Linked DNA regions of Homo sapiens: region 2 is linked to region 1. Evidence: promoter capture Hi-C in human tissues and cell types (Jung and others, 2019). All regions are on one chromosome and are shown on one strand. The core of a region is centred on a gene start or on the middle of the fragment in contact, and the rest is flanking DNA. Distances in the headings are between cores, read along the strand shown. Region 1 holds the start of DPF1 (double PHD fingers 1). Region 2 holds the start of MRPS12 (mitochondrial ribosomal protein S12).

The links. Contacts are between HindIII fragments. The study calls those that stand out against the background at their distance.
Region 2: the fragment with the promoter of MRPS12 here is called in contact with the fragment with the promoter of DPF1 in region 1 in 1 of the 25 tissues and cell types used here (spleen).

The regions. Positions count from the first base shown.
Region 1 is chr19:38,222,972-38,230,791 of GRCh38, forward strand. It overlaps DPF1 (double PHD fingers 1), which reads right to left and starts at 1,251. Exons shown (of 12, transcript NM_001135155.3): 1 at 1,143-1,251. The coding sequence starts at 1,171. RefSeq lists silencers at 1,016-1,585, 6,629-7,008 and an enhancer at 4,508-5,278. The HindIII fragment of the contact is 15,736 bases long and covers 1-7,820 here.
Region 2 is chr19:38,929,590-38,936,964 of GRCh38, forward strand. MRPS12 (mitochondrial ribosomal protein S12) reads left to right here and starts at 1,355. Exons shown (of 3, transcript NM_033362.4): 1 at 1,355-1,409; 2 at 1,687-1,754; 3 at 2,744-3,579. The coding sequence starts at 1,706. The coding sequence ends at 3,111. It overlaps SARS2 (seryl-tRNA synthetase 2, mitochondrial), which reads right to left and starts at 1,174. Exons shown (of 16, transcript NM_017827.4): 1 at 881-1,174. The coding sequence starts at 1,147. LOC124904713 (a long non-coding RNA gene) reads right to left here. Exons shown (of 2, transcript XR_007067253.1): 2 at 5,234-7,263. RefSeq lists an enhancer at 799-1,258. The HindIII fragment of the contact is 13,053 bases long and covers 1-5,525 here.

The sequences.
Region 1 (7,820 bases), core at 1-2,500:
TATCCCTACCTGAACACATGCAGACACACAACACAAATCACACACAGTCACACGGGATTCACACACAAAGAGAGACAAATCCCAATACTCACAAAGGAGAAACAGACAAACCTCACACACGTGCACACATAAATATCTACTGAAAAAGACAAATATCCCAAGTTCCATAGTGTGGAGACAAATCACACAAATAACCATGCACAAAGACACATCACATATCCACAGACACACACCAGAAACACATCACCCACACAAAGACACACAACATGGAAACATCACACCACACACACATACACCCCCTCATGCATCCAAAGACACAAGCATGTCAAAAGACAGGAACTACAGAAACCACTTGCGCCCCTAGGCACTTACCCATGTATCCAAAGACACAACACAAACCACACACACAATATCCAGACACACAACACAAAGAAATCACACAGATTCACACAGGTACACACACACATTTACAAAGATGCACGATGCGCAACCAGTATCTAAAATATCACACATCCACACAGACACACACACATATAAAACACAGAAACAGCCAAATCCACCCATAGTCACACAAAAATTTACACACAAATACACGCAGCCCTACATACCCAAAAACACAGAACACAAGACAAATGACATATAGTTCCAAAGGACACGGACACACACTGGGAGACCCAAATATCCAAAGATATCTAGTGCAGAATAAAAGGAAACAGACACATGTCCACACACCTATCCCCCAAAAATTCTTAAAAAAACCAGAACACAAATAAGTGATACACACACACACTCCACATCCCAAGACAAAGGTAGTGTGGACTTCACTCCAGTTGCCAAGGCCCCCGCACCCCCGGGTCATTTCAGTCTCTCCCAGACCCGAGGGTTGCAGGGAAGGGATGATGTCTCCCTTCCCCAAAAAGAATCTGGAGGCCCCCCACGCCCTCCACCCCGCCAGGGAGCGGTGCATCCGACACCATTCTTGTCAGAGACCCACAGTCACACACTCTCGCACCCCCGCGCAGCCCCGCACTCGGTGACAGCCCCCCAGACACCCCTTCGGCCCCACCCCCGGTCGCCACACACACACAGGCCCGCGTAGACCCGCCCGCGCTTCCTCTCCGCCTCCCGCCGGCCCGCACCACCTCAGGGGGCCAGGGATGACAGTGGCCATCTTGCTCCCCGGGTCCTGCCCCCAGCAGGTCCCCGCCGGGTCGGTCCTCCCAGCGGTCGGGCGGGCGCTGAGGCCGCCCATCCATTCATTCCCGGGGGGCGGGAGCACGAGGGCCACGGCCAATCGCGGCGACGGGGCGGGCCCGCCCGGGCCATGCTGGGAGTGGTAGTCCCAGGCCAGGGGGCCCCCGGGACCCCGCGGGGACGGGACGGCGCGGAGGAGGGGCCCGGGGCACGCACCGTCACTCACCCGCCCTCACTCGTCCACATATCCTGCTCTCGCGTGCACACAACCACATGCACACCTGGACTCGCACACGCCCACGCATGGCAGTTTACACACACATTCACGCGGATACTCACAGCCTCCCACACACTCCTACTCACACACCTTCGCACGGACTCACACAGCCACACGCACACACACTGCAATACTAAGAGACGCAGAGACACCTCCCAGGTGCCCACACAGACTTCTCACCAACATGCTTCCAGCAGACACCCCCTCACCGCCCCCCACCCAAGTCCCTCCTGGCTCCAGAGACCCCACCCGGGGCTGTCTCTCCCAGCAGCCACGCTCACGGTCACCCCGCCCTGCTCAACGCCTTCTGCAGGCCTGACAGCAGCAGTGCAGGTTAGAAACAGTAGTCACACCTCCAGGGTTCAAATCCTAGCTCTGCCACTTGGTGGCCATGTGACCTTGGCAAATGACTTAACCTTTCTGGGCCTCAGTTTCCTCATCTGTAAAAAGAGGATGATGCCTCACTGGAGTGTTGTGAGGATTAAATGAGTAAATATAGGTAAAGCATTTTAAGAGGTGACTGGCAGGCCAGGCGCAGTGGCTCACACCTGTAATCCCGGCACTTTGGGAGGCCCAGGCAGGTGGATCACCTGAGGATGGGAGTTCGAGACCAGCCTGGCCAACATGGTAGTAGTCTCTACTAAAAATACAAAATTAGCCGGGCATGGTGGCGCATGCTTATACTCCCCCACTCAGGAGGCTGAGGCAGGAGAATCACTTGAACTCAGGAGGTGGAGGTTGCAGTGAGCTGAGATCGTGCCATTGCACTCCAGCCTGGGCAACAAGAGTGAGACTCCCTCTCAAAAATAAATAAATAAATAATAAGAAAGAAAGAATAATGCGGCCAGGTGCGATGGCTCCAGTCTGCAATCCCAGTACTTCGGGAGGCCTAGATGAGAGCACTGCTTGAGCCCAGGAGTTTGAGACCAACCTGGGCAACATATCCAGACCCCTGTGTCTACAAAAAAAAATTAAAATTAGCTGGGCATGATGGCGCAGCAGTGTAGTCCCAGCTACTTGCAAGGCTAAAGTGGGAGGATAGCTTGAACCTGGGAGGCTGAGGCTGCAGTGAGCTGTGGTCTCACCACTGCACTCCAGCCTGGGTGGCAGAGCGAGACTCTGTCTCTAAAAGCAAACAAACAAACAAACAAACAAACAAAAAACTAAGTAAGCAGGGCGCCGTGACTCATGCCTGTAATCCCAGCAATCTGGGAGGCTGAGATGAGAGGACCGCTTGAGCTCAGGAGAACAGCCTGGGCAACATAGCGAGACCTGGTCTCTACTAAAAAAAAAATAAATAGCTGGGCATGGTGGCACATGCCTATGGTCCCAGCTACTCAGGAGGCTGAGTCAGGAGGATTGGTTGAACCCAGGAGATCGAAGCTGCAGTGAGCTATGATCACACCACTACACTCCAGCCTGGACAACTGAGCAAGACCCTGTCTCCAAAAAAAAAAAAAAAAATAGATGCTCAGTAGATATTTGTTGAATGAGTAAATGCACCCATCATGTGCTGGGCACAGTTCACCCCGGGATGCTTTTATTATCTGCATTTTCCAGGTGAGGAATCTGAGGCACAGGAAGGTAACCTCACATGCCCGCATGCCCTGGCGGCTCTTTGAAGGTAAGACTGAAGGAAGGAGGCAGGCACCCCTGACGGCCCTCCCCAAGTAGTCCTGACCTCCTTCTCTCTCCCACTGTCACCCACACTGACTCCACCCGAAGAGATCCCCAGGGAGTGAGCAGACCCACTGAGTCACAAACTGACCCAGTCTCTCTGCAACACCACCACCCCGTCCCCCCTCCCGTCTCACCCCTCCTCCCCCTTTCCCCTTCCCACCCCTTCTCCCCCTTTCCCCTTCCCCTCTTCCACCCGGACCCCTGTAGAGCCAGCATTCAAATTTGGGCGGCTGCTGTAATTAACACGCCCACAAACGCCCTCATCCACCAGGGGGCGCCCCAGCCGACAGAAGTGGCCCGCTAGCCTTCACCATTTTTGTCACTTGAAATCCCCCCAAGAGAGAGATCCAGTCAAGGCCTCCTACACTCACGGTCACTTCTACACACACACACACACACACACACACACACACACACTCCTCTAGTCTTAGACCCTTTCCACAAACTCGCCCATCTAAGCCAGGTAAGGTCTTGGCCGGCCCCTCTCCTGGAACAGGAGGTAGGTCTCTGATTCACATATGGCCTGGAGTGGTGACAAGGGGATTAAGTGAGGGGCACTGACACCCCTACGATCACTCTGGCCTCCAGGGCCCTATAGTGGCCACCTCACACCTTACCCACGGTGAGCTGTGACCCCACCTTCCTCTCTCACCTCCCATTAGCTCACAGGTCCCGTAACACACCCTCTTACACTTGATTCCCACACCGCTAGCCTCAGACACGCAGACTCACTCCTGCCCCACCCCAAACTCTCATGTCGATTTGATTAAGAGAAGCCCGAGTGTAGACACTGAGTGCAGACCTTCCTAACAGTCCTCCTCTACCAGCAGAATTTCTATTTTTCTTTCTTTTCTTTTCTTCTTTTATTTCTCTTCCTTCCTTCCTTCCTTCCTTCCTTCCTTCCTTCCTTCCTTTCTTTCTTTCTTTCTTTTCTTCTCTTTCTTTCCTCTTTCTCTTTTTCTCTTTTTTTTTTTTGGACAGCGTCTCACTCGATGGCCCAGGCTGGAGTGCCATGGCATGAACACAGCTCGCTGCAGCCTCCACCTCCCAGGCTCAAGCGATCCTCCCACCTCAAACCCCCAAGTAGCTGGGACTACAGGCCTGTGCCACCGCACCCGGCTAATTTTTGTATTTTTGTAAAAACAGGGTGTCCCTGTGTTGGCCAGGCTAGTCTCAAACTCCTAAGCTCAAGTGATCTGCCCACCCTGCCCTCCCAAAGTGCTGAGATTACAGGCATAAGCCACCATGCCCGGCCCACCAGCAGGATATCTACCCACAGACGCAGGCTGACACTTGCAGCGGGCTCTCCTTTCTTTCCTTCTGCCCTAACCACCTGCACACACCACTCCCACATACTCTCCTACACACTTGAACTCCCAGTCCTCTCCCTGGCCCAAACAATCCTCCTGCCCCATCCCCCAATGCCCTGTGTGGGAGCTGGCCCACAGTAGAAATCAATTTCATAAATCAATATTGATACTACTAATAATAATCACTACATTTGGTCAGTGTCAGTCTCTGTGCTAACTGCTTTACAAAGATGGCCTTAGCCCCACGACAGTCCCATCGGGTGGTAAGGGCTGTTAGAAGCCCCCATACACAGATGGCAAAACTGAGGCTCACGGCAGGGAACATTCGTGGCTCAAGCTGGTTTTGGAACTCAGGCAGTCGGAACTTCCGAGGGCGGCACCCTGCAGCTCCTTCTCCCCAGGGGATTTGACTCACATTCTTTCAGGAGCCAGGGAGTCCCCACCTTCACCCCCACAGAGACCTTTTGGAAGGGAAGGGCACAGAGGGGTAGGGCCCTCCCAGTCCAGGCTTACTGTAGCTGGGCCCCTGCTCACGGCTGTAGCACACCTCCTCCCAGGGGTCTGGGCCAGGGTCAGGGTGAGGGGCCCCATCGCCTGTAGATCCACCAACCTGCACAAGAGCCCCGTTCCCAGCCATTTTGCGGATGTCCCCTCACAGGAGAGACAGCTGTCTGTGTGTGCCACTTAGGGTGAGAGGGCAGCAGAGGGGTGTCACCATCATACACCACCTCACACGGACCCGAGCCCCACACACCCGCTCCCGGCACCCTGCTCACGGCGAAGCCACACGTGTAGGCGCTTGCCTCTAAGTCCCTGCCCCCCTTCCTCTCCCAACTCCCACCCTCCACCTCCCACCCCCATTCCCGCCAGAAACCAGAAGCAACTGGCGGCCTCTGGTCCAGCCAGCAGGCGCATCCCTTCTCGTGGGTGGGGTAGGGGGGCGCTCCCTCTCTCCCTCTCTCCCCCCACCCCCCACCCCCGCCCCCAGCCCTCGATGTTCAAGGTCAAGGCAGCCAGCGCACGGGGTTGGGGGAAGGGTGGGGGAGGTCGCCCCGGCCCCTTTGTGCGACGCCGCGGGCGCTCGCCCTCCGCCTCCTCCACCAGGCCCGGGAGGAGGGGGAGGGGAGCGCCTCGCTCGCCTGCGGGGAGGGAGGGCGGGAGCGGCCGAGTGCCTGTCACTTGGAGCCCGCTGTCACCGCCTGGGAACGGGGGGTGGGGAGCGCTGGGACGTGGAGTCCGGGATCCCGAAGAGGAAGCAAGAGCGAGATGGAGAGGGGGAAGGGGAGGTGTGGAGAGCGCGAGGGATGGCAAGGAGAGGAGAGGGTCAGGAGGGGCCAGGCTCGGACCCAGGCTTCCGGATTCCCAGCCACCGGGCCCGGGAAGAGGCGAACGCTCGGAGGACCGCGGCCAGGGAGAAAGGGAGGGAATCCCCGGAGACCGAGGGCGCTCCCGGCACCCCCTCCTGGGCAGCCGGTCCCCAAAGGGATCAGAGATGCTCCCGTTTGATGTGTATGCGCGGGGAGAGGGAGGGATGCCGCGGTCCAGACTGACGGCGGGTTCGGGGCTTCCAGTTCCCGGGATCCCGGGAGGAAAAAGGGGAGGCAGCGGGGATGGAACTGGGGACCCCCGACGTCTCAGCTCCCACCCTGCGGCCGCGAGGGCCGGGGTCCTCAGAGAAAGAAGGGGAAAGAGAGAAAGGCGCTTTGATGAGCGGAGAGCGGGTGATGGAAACCCTGGAGACCGAGGTCCGGACTTAGGTGTTCGAGCTTTCAGCCCCGGCCGGGGCAGGCCCGGCACCTCCGGAGACCCTGAGGGAGAGATGGAGGAGAGGGAAACCCCTACCCCCACTCTGGGTGGGGAAACGGCCTCCGCCACCCCCAGCCCGCGCCGCATTCCTTCACTGACAGCGACAAAGAAGAGGCGCCCCCGCGACCCTGGAGGGGCTCCCGCCCCCAACCCCAGGGGGCGACAGGGGGTGGGGACCCCCGGGGCAAGGGTTCGCGCTGGGGGCCCCCATTCAACTACGGTCCGCGCGCTGCGTCCCCCTCCTCAGCCCCAGGGCGGGCGGGGGAAGGGCTCCTGGTGGGGGGGTCTGGACAGGGGGCGGGGACGGCAGGGACACTCACGACTTGAGCGGGTTCTGAATGGCGGTGGCCATGGCCCGCTCGGCTGGGCCGCCTCCGGCCCGGGGCGCCGCTGCCGCCGCGCGCGGGCCCAGCCCGGCCTGCGCCGCCCGCTCTGCCGCCCAGCGCGCTACGATTTCATTCATTCTTGGGGCTGCGGCGCGAGCGGAGCGGGGCGGGCCGGGGGCGGGGCTCAGCCAATCCCCGCGCCTCCCAGCGCACGACGGGACGTGGAGTCTAGGGGCGCGCGGCGGCGCCCGAGGGCGCCCCTGCCCGGACTACACGTCCCAGGGGGCGTCAGGAGGACCGCGCTCCCATTGGCTGCTGGGGATACAGGGAGGGGCGGGGCTCCCCCCAGAGCATCTTTCCTCCCTCCCTGGGAGTGCTCGGTCTCCAACTCGGGATCTCCACCCTCCAGGCACCGCGGGCGCGGAAGCAGGTGGTCCCTAGCTTCTAGATGTCCCCAGGGTATGTGGATGACCCTAGGGTCTGTCGTGTATTCTTGTCTAGGCCTATTTGGGTGTCTCTTCTATGTCGGACAGCCTGTGAACAAGCACAGGGGTTAATCAGTGCCTTTGTTCATTTACTGAGTGCCTGCTGTGTTCCAGGAACTCTTCTAGGCACTGGGGATACAGCAATGACCAAAACAAAGTTGCCGCTCTCAAGGAGCTGACATTCTAGTGGAGAAAGACAGATAATAAGAAAATAAATAGATAAAATCATTTCAGACAGTGAAAGGTGCTATAAAGAAAAGAAAATGGGGCCAGTCGTGGTTGCTCATCACTTTGGGAGGCCTGTAATCCCATCACTTTGGGAGGCCAAGGCAGGTGGATCATCTGAGCTTAGGAGTTCAAGACCAATATGGGCAACATGGCGAAACCCCGTCTCTACCCAAAATACAAAAAATTAGCTGGGTGTGGTGGTGCATGCCTGTAGTCCCAGCTACTCAGGAAGCTGAGGTGGGAGGATCACTTGAGCCTGGGAGGCAGAGATTGCAGTGAGCCGAGATTGTACCACTGCATTCCAGCCTGGGTGACAGAGCGAGACCCTGTCTCAAAAAAAAAAAAAAAAAAAAGAGAGAGAGAGAGAGAGAAAGAAAGAAAAAGAAAAAGAGAAGAGTCCAGGCACACACCTATAATCCCAGCACTTTGGGAGCCTGAGGCAGGAGGATTGCTTGAGCCCCATAGCACAAGACCAGCCTGGGCAACATAGTGAGATCCCATCTCTGCAAAAAGT
Region 2 (7,375 bases), core at 105-2,604, 710 kb after region 1:
TAGGCCAGAAAGCACAGGTTAAAATTCCCACTCTGCCACTTCCCAGTTGCATGACCTAGCGCAAGTGAATTAGCTTCTCGAAGCCTTAGTTTCCCCTCTGATAAAATGGGAGAAATAATGGCACCTACTTCATAGAGTTGCTGTGAAAATTAAACGAGGTTAAAGTGAATAAAGCACTTCAAACAGGCTGGGAGGGGAGTCCAAGAGAGGAATGGGAAGACGTGGGGACCCCACTATCGTTAGCACCTCAACACAGAGATATTGTGAACCCGGTCCTAATTCCCTTTTATAAGTGCTAGCAATTTTATTATTATTCACCGCATATTTGCAACATCTAGAACACCGGAATATAGCAGTTGCACCTTAAGTATCAGTTTAATAGAACCATTCATTAATGGATTCATTCATTCATTCATTAACTCTATTTAACTGCCTGCTATGTGTGGCGGAGGTGCACAACTCTCCCTACCTCTCTCTCTAAACGCAAGAGCTCCACCACACCCCAGCCCTGACCCCGTCCGATTCACACTTGGCTCCCCATTTTCCTTTGTGGTCTTAGGGAAAGGCTGGCATGAGGTTGCAGCACGGAGGGCAATGTCACATAGCAAGTTCCTAAAGGACAGGAGGTACCCAGCGAGCAGTATGAAACAAGCGCATAATGGGTGTCCAGGACACAGTAGGCATTCTTGGCACATAGTAGGGCCTCAGCACTCACTGGACAACTGGCACATAAGTGGGTGCCATGCACAAGACGTTGGCTAACTTGGGAAATAACTAAAATTCCTACTACAGGTTCGCCCCCTGCCGGAGGGCATCTTGCAAACCCAATTCTTCCGTAAAGCAAACGTCTGCGCCCCCCGGCCGGCGCAGGCGCACTCACGATCGCGGGCAGGTCCGCCGAGCGCAGCTCCCCCTTGCGGAGCTCCAGGGCGTGTGCGGCCTCTTCTGGGCATGCGCAGAACCGCTCTATGTCCAGCTGAGGGAGTGCGCTGTAGCCCTCGCGCGCATACTCGTACAGGAGGTTCCGGTTTCGTTTCTCTGTAGTGAAACTTCTCCTTGGACTATCGTTGGAGATGCAGCCTCCCCGGGGCCGGAACCCCCGACGAGTCAGCAAAGGCCACAAGCGCCGCGCCATGGACGCAGCCATCTTGGACCGGGAACAAGGCGGCACTTCGTCCCGCCCACTCCGCGTTTAGACCAATTGCAAGGCAGCGAACCTGACCGTGACGAGCCAATCAGATCCTGAGGAAAGTTGACCGCGATAGAGTCCTTCGTCGCCCAATCGTCGTCTGTGTCCCGCCTCTTCAGTGACGCGAGGCAGAACCAGCCAATCCCTGCACGGATAGCGCCCGGAAGAGGCTAGAAGCTGGATTCAGCGTGTCCGCGACCTCACCTTTAGGTCCTGTGAGGTCGGTGGAATCCTGGGGTCCTCCAAATCTACCAGGCCATCTCCCCAGTTTCCCAGTTCTTCCTGCGTGCGGGCGAGAGTGGTTGGGCCCTCGGGAACCCACTCAGAGCGAGGCTAAATTTACGGAGGGACTTTCTGTTAGCAGCATGAGGGCCTGTGGTTAGACCTATAGAGGTATTTCCTTTGATTTAAGCCAGAAAGTCCTGAGAGCGGATCGGGGAGCATTTGCGGATCGGTCACTTTTTCCTCCTTTCTGAGTCTCTTATCCCCTACCACAGGGACGGCCCAGGTGGCAGGATGTCCTGGTCTGGCCTTCTCCATGGCCTCAACACGTCCCTAACTTGTGGTAAGTGGGGGACTTGGGCTTCAGGGACGAGGCTAGAGGGGGAGGGTTATTCGCTCTTGGACTTGTGTGCCTCCGTCGGAGCCCCGAGGGAAACGGGGGTGGAAAAACACGGTGGGGTTTTGGCAGAGCTAGGGCTGCTAGAGCAAGAGGTGGGAAGCAGCTGCATGGAGGGCTACTGCGTGTCAAGCGGCGTTTGGGTCAGTTTTATTATTTATTTATTTAAGATCTCCCTCTGTCGCCCAGGCTGAAGTGCAGCGGTGTGATCACAGCTCACTGCAGTCTCGACCTCCTGGGCTCAAGTGATCCTCCCGCCTCAGCCTCCCAAGTAGCTGGGACCACAGGCCTGCAGAACCACAACCAGCTAACTTTTTGATTCTTTGTAGAGAGGGAGGTCTCCCTGTGTCGCCCAGTCTGGCCTTAACTCCTGAGCTCAAGTGACCCTCCACAGCCTCCAAAAGTGCTAGGATTACATGCATGAGCCACTGAGCCTACTATTATTTTAAACAGCATTAAAAATAATGCTTCCTGGCCAGCCGTGGTGGCTCACGCCTGTAATCCCAGCACTTTGAGAGGCCGAGGTCAGGAGTTCGAGACCAGCCTGACCAACATGGTGAAACCCCGTCTCTACTTAAAAATACGAAGATTAGCCGAGCGTGGTGGTGGGTGCCTGTAGTCCCAGCTGCTCAGGAGGCTGAGACAGGAGAATTGCTTGAACCCAGGAGGCAGAGGTTGCAGTGGGCCAAGATTGAGGTACTGCACTCCAGCCTGGGCGACAGAGTGAGACTTTGTCTCAAAAAAAAAAAAGAAAAAAAAAAAAAAGGTAATGCTTCCTTGAAGAATAAAGAGTTACTTTTGTCTGTAGATAACATTAGATGTGAACAAATGCATCTTTGTAAAGTGCTTTAAACAATGCCTAAAACACCAAAATTGAGTTGCTACTACTCTAAGATCTGTTCTCTGGGATAATAACCCCTTTCGGCCCTCTCCAGGCCCAGCTCTGGTTCCCCGGCTCTGGGCTACCTGCTCCATGGCTACCCTGAACCAGATGCACCGCCTGGGGCCCCCCAAGCGGCCGCCTCGGAAGCTGGGCCCCACGGAAGGCCGGCCGCAGCTGAAGGGTGTGGTCCTGTGCACGTTTACCCGCAAGCCGAAGAAGCCCAACTCAGCCAATCGCAAGTGCTGTCGAGTGCGGCTCAGCACTGGCCGCGAGGCCGTCTGCTTCATCCCTGGGGAGGGCCACACCCTGCAGGAGCACCAGATTGTCCTTGTGGAGGGCGGCCGCACCCAGGACCTGCCAGGCGTCAAGCTCACCGTTGTGCGTGGCAAGTACGACTGTGGCCACGTGCAGAAGAAGTGACGGCTGGGGGCACAGTGGGCTGGGCGCCCCTGCAGAACATGAACCTTCCGCTCCTGGCTGCCACAGGGTCCTCCGATGCTGGCCTTTGCGCCTCTAGAGGCAGCCACTCATGGATTCAAGTCCTGGCTCCGCCTCTTCCATCAGGACCACTATTAAGCCATAGGAGTCCTGGGGGTGCAAAGGGTGCCCCTCTGTCAACACCCTTGGCTCCTGTGTTTAGAGGGGTGGCCTGAAGGACCTTTTCTGCTGGGACAAGACACTGTACTGCCCTCTGCTGGGAAGGGGTTTTAATAAACAGACCCTGGCGCTTGTGATGTAAATCCCCTTGTGGAGTATTTGCCCTCTGTGTGGCTGTGGCAGTGGACATCTCTGAGCTTCAGTTTCCTCCAGAAAATAGCTCCATTGGTGGTATCTCCTTTGTTTGGTTTGGTGAAGATTAAATTCGATGCTCTATGTGCATAACACGCACGGAGGGCTCTTTTTTTTTTTTTTAGACAAAGTCTCACTCTGTTGCCCAGGCTGGAGTGCAGTGGCCTGATCTCAGCTCACTGCAACCTCTGCCCCCCGGGTTCATATGATTCTCCTGCCTCAGCCTCCCGAGTAGCTGGGATTGTAGGCACACACCACCAGGCCTGGCTAATTTTTGTATTTTTAGTAGAGACAGCGTTTCACCATGTTGGCCAGGCTGGTCTCAAACTCCTGAGCTCGGGTGATCTGCCCACCTTGGCCTCCCAAAGTGCTGGGATTACAGGCGTGAGCCACCACGCCTGGCAGAGGGCTACTGTATTTTAAGCTTAGGAGTCAGGTAGGTGGCACAGAGGCCCAGGTCTTCTTCCTGCAGGCCATGGGTTCTGGGCACATAAACTCTGCCCTCAAGCATGGACAGCTGGAAAATGGCAGTAATTGTAATGTTGATGTGGAAGGGGTGTGGAAAGGATTCAATGGGGTGTGCTGCTCCACACCCGGGAGCTGTTCTTTTATTTTATACGTGTGTGTGTGTGTGTGTGTGTGTGTGTGTGTTTGTGTGTGTTTGTGTAGAGAGAGAGACAGAGTCTCACTGTGTTGTCCAGGCTGGAGTGCGGTTCTATGATCAAAGCTTACTTCAGCCTTGACCTCCTGAGCTCAATAGATCCTCCCGCCTCAGCCTCCTGAGTAGTCAGGACCACAGGTGTGTGCCACCACACCTGGCTAACTTTTCCATTTTTTTAGAGTGGGAATCTGGCTTTGTTGTCCAGGCTGGTCTCGAACTCTTGGCCTCAAGAGATCCTTCCACCTTGGCCTCCTAAAATGCTGGATTATAGGTGTGAGCCACTATTATATTATATAATAATATAAAATTATTACTGGGTTCACCTGAGCTCAAATTCTGCTCCCCGTCATAATTGCTATGAGACCTGGCTATGTTGGTTCCCCCTATGGGCCTCGGTTTCCTCCCTTGGAAAATGGCACTGATGATAATGCTGACTGCACCTGATCATGTTTTTGGCCATGTAAGATTTAAGAAGTGGGGCCAGGTGCAGTGGCTCATGCCTGTAATCTCAACACTTTGGGAGGCCGAGGTGGGCCGACCACTTGAGGTCAGGAGTTTGAGACCAGCCTGGCCAACATGGTGAAACCCTGTCTCTACTAAAAATACAAAAATTACCCGGGCATGGTGGCATGTGCCTATAATCTCAGCTACTCAGGAGGCTGAGGCAGGAGACTTGCTTGAACCTGGGAGGTGGAGGTTGCAGTGAGCTGAGATCAGCACCACTGCACTGCAGCCTGGGTGACAGAGTGAGACTCTGTCTCAAAAAAAGAAAAAAGAAAAAACAATGTTGGAACTGTGTTTATATCATTGGGCTCTGGAGCCCAGCACTGCTCCAAGCCCTGCCTCCCCTACTTACTGGCTGGGTGACCTTGGGCAGGTTGTTTACACTCTGAGCCTGGACCAAATGGCGCTGATAAGGGTGCATGCTTGAGAGCTGTTTGGAGCATCATAGCTGTCTCCGAGTTCCTCTTGACGCTCAACACACAGCCTCCTGAGGGTCTCCTGATTGTAAACATGAGGCCACAAGGTCTTTTAGGATCAGAGCTGGTGGCAGATAAGTGCACTGATTACAGATAAAAATTGCCCATCCCCTCATATTTGGCACCAGTTTTATTGAGCTAGTTTGTTGGCCATGCCTAGCTGAGAAATAGAGAAGTGGAGGGAGATGGGGGGATGGGAGAGCTTTTCCTCATGGCACACTCTGCTCCAGGAGTCTGTATACAGGAGTGTGGAGAAAAGGAAGTGTTACCTTGCAGGAAGTTGCCCCCAAAGCAAGGGCAGGAGGTGGGGGTGGGGGACTTGGCCTCTGATGGAATTCTGGAATTCTGATGAGAGAGGTGCTAGCCTGACCTGAACAGGAGATGCTGACAGGCAGTGCTGGGCATGTTGCACAGAGATGGCTGGTTACACAGCCCCGTGGCAGGATCCCAGAGTGCCGAGACCAGCTGGGTCGTGGAGACCCTAACCCAGTGGCGCTAGAGGAATTAAAGACACACACCCAGAAATACAGGGTGTGGAGTGGGAAATCAGGGGTCTCACAGCCTTCAGAGCTGAGAGCCTCGAACAGAGATTTACACACATATTTATTGACAGCAAGCCAGTGATAAGCATTATTTCTATAGATTATAGATTAACTAAAAGCATTTCTTATGGGAAATAAAGGGATGTGCCAAAATAAACGGATGGGCTCTGGCTAGTTATCTGCAGCAGGAACATGTCCTTAAGGCACAGATCGCTCATGCTATTGTTTGTGGTACAGGAACCCCTTTAAGCCGTTTTCCATCCTGGGTGAGCCAGGTGTTCCTTGCCCTCATTCCAGTAAACCCACGACCTTCAGGGTGGGGGTCATGGCCATCATGAACATGTCACAGTGCTGCAGAGATTTTGTTTATGGCCAGTTTTGGGGCCAGTTTATGGCCAGATTCAGGGGCCTGTTCCCAACATGTCCCCTTTTTTGTTTTGCAAAGTGATAAAAGCAAAGGCAGCTTTGTCACGGTGAGCTACTTCTCACAGGAGTCAGGATCCGCATCTGCACACTATACAAAGACAAACAACACAGAGTAAAAGCACAATCATCATTGAAATCACAGAGCCTCCAAGTGTTTTTATCCATTTGAATGGGTTACTAGCTGCTAATCTGTCTGCAGCTCCTTCAAGCACTCCAGTTCCTGGCATTAAGTTCACGTGTGCCTGGGATACTTTAAATATTTGTTCTTTCAATTTTGCAATATCCAAATACAAGTTTGTAGAGTGGCCTTCTAGATGCTTTTTTATTCTTTCCCAAATTTTGATTTTATTAAGAGCTATTAACAGTTTCCACAAATGCTTATGTTTAGCTCCTAGAGCAGGCCATATCATTTGAGGCTGAGGTGCCACTATACTGCCATGGTTCCAGATAATAGGAACTCTTGCTGTATTTCTTACCATTTCTATCATCTGACCATTTTGTTCAGATGAGCTGATCACAGTGTGGCCATGGCATGCAGACTGAGAGGTGCAGTTCAAGCTAAACATCCCCATAGGTGACCAATTAATAATGATTCCATAGGAATTGTTGTGCAGCACCTCTGCCTGTTCTGCAAAGCAATCTTCCTAAACAAGTACGTTCATTTTTGCTAACTGGGTCCAATCCTGTTTACAAATATGTTTTTGAGGGCAGTATGCCTCAATTATAGGAGCAGATTTATTATGAGATCAGAAAGCTTGTATAACTGTGTCATAGAGTGATTACATCCAGGCATTATTGCCAGCCAAGATTGATAAATATGCCCAATAAGTATAATTGTCCTCTGTGTCAGCCCTTATTGAAGGAATACTCATGGCAGTGGTGATCATCGCTATCATAGCTACCATTAAATTACTCATTGCGACTGGTTGTCCCACTTTCCTCAGGTTTTCTTCCACCATCTGTGACAGCTTCTTGATCTGTCTCCAGGTGGGTGGCTGTGTTTGACAGGTGTTGCTCGTGACAGTTGGGGTCTTCCTCAGCGTCAGTCTCGACATGGCTGCAACCGGGGGTGGGGGGGGTCCTCAGTTTCCTCCCGGAATCTCTTCCTCAGCATCTGGCTCATGATAAGGTTTCAGGTGTCTTGATGGTATCCAAATCGGCTGTTGAGTCAGTCCTGGAGAAACACAAGCATAACCTCTACCCCAAGTTATTATTTTACCTATTTCCTAACTTTTTGTTATTGGATCTCTCCACCAAACTAGTTGTTCTGCTTCTGTCTTTGCAGC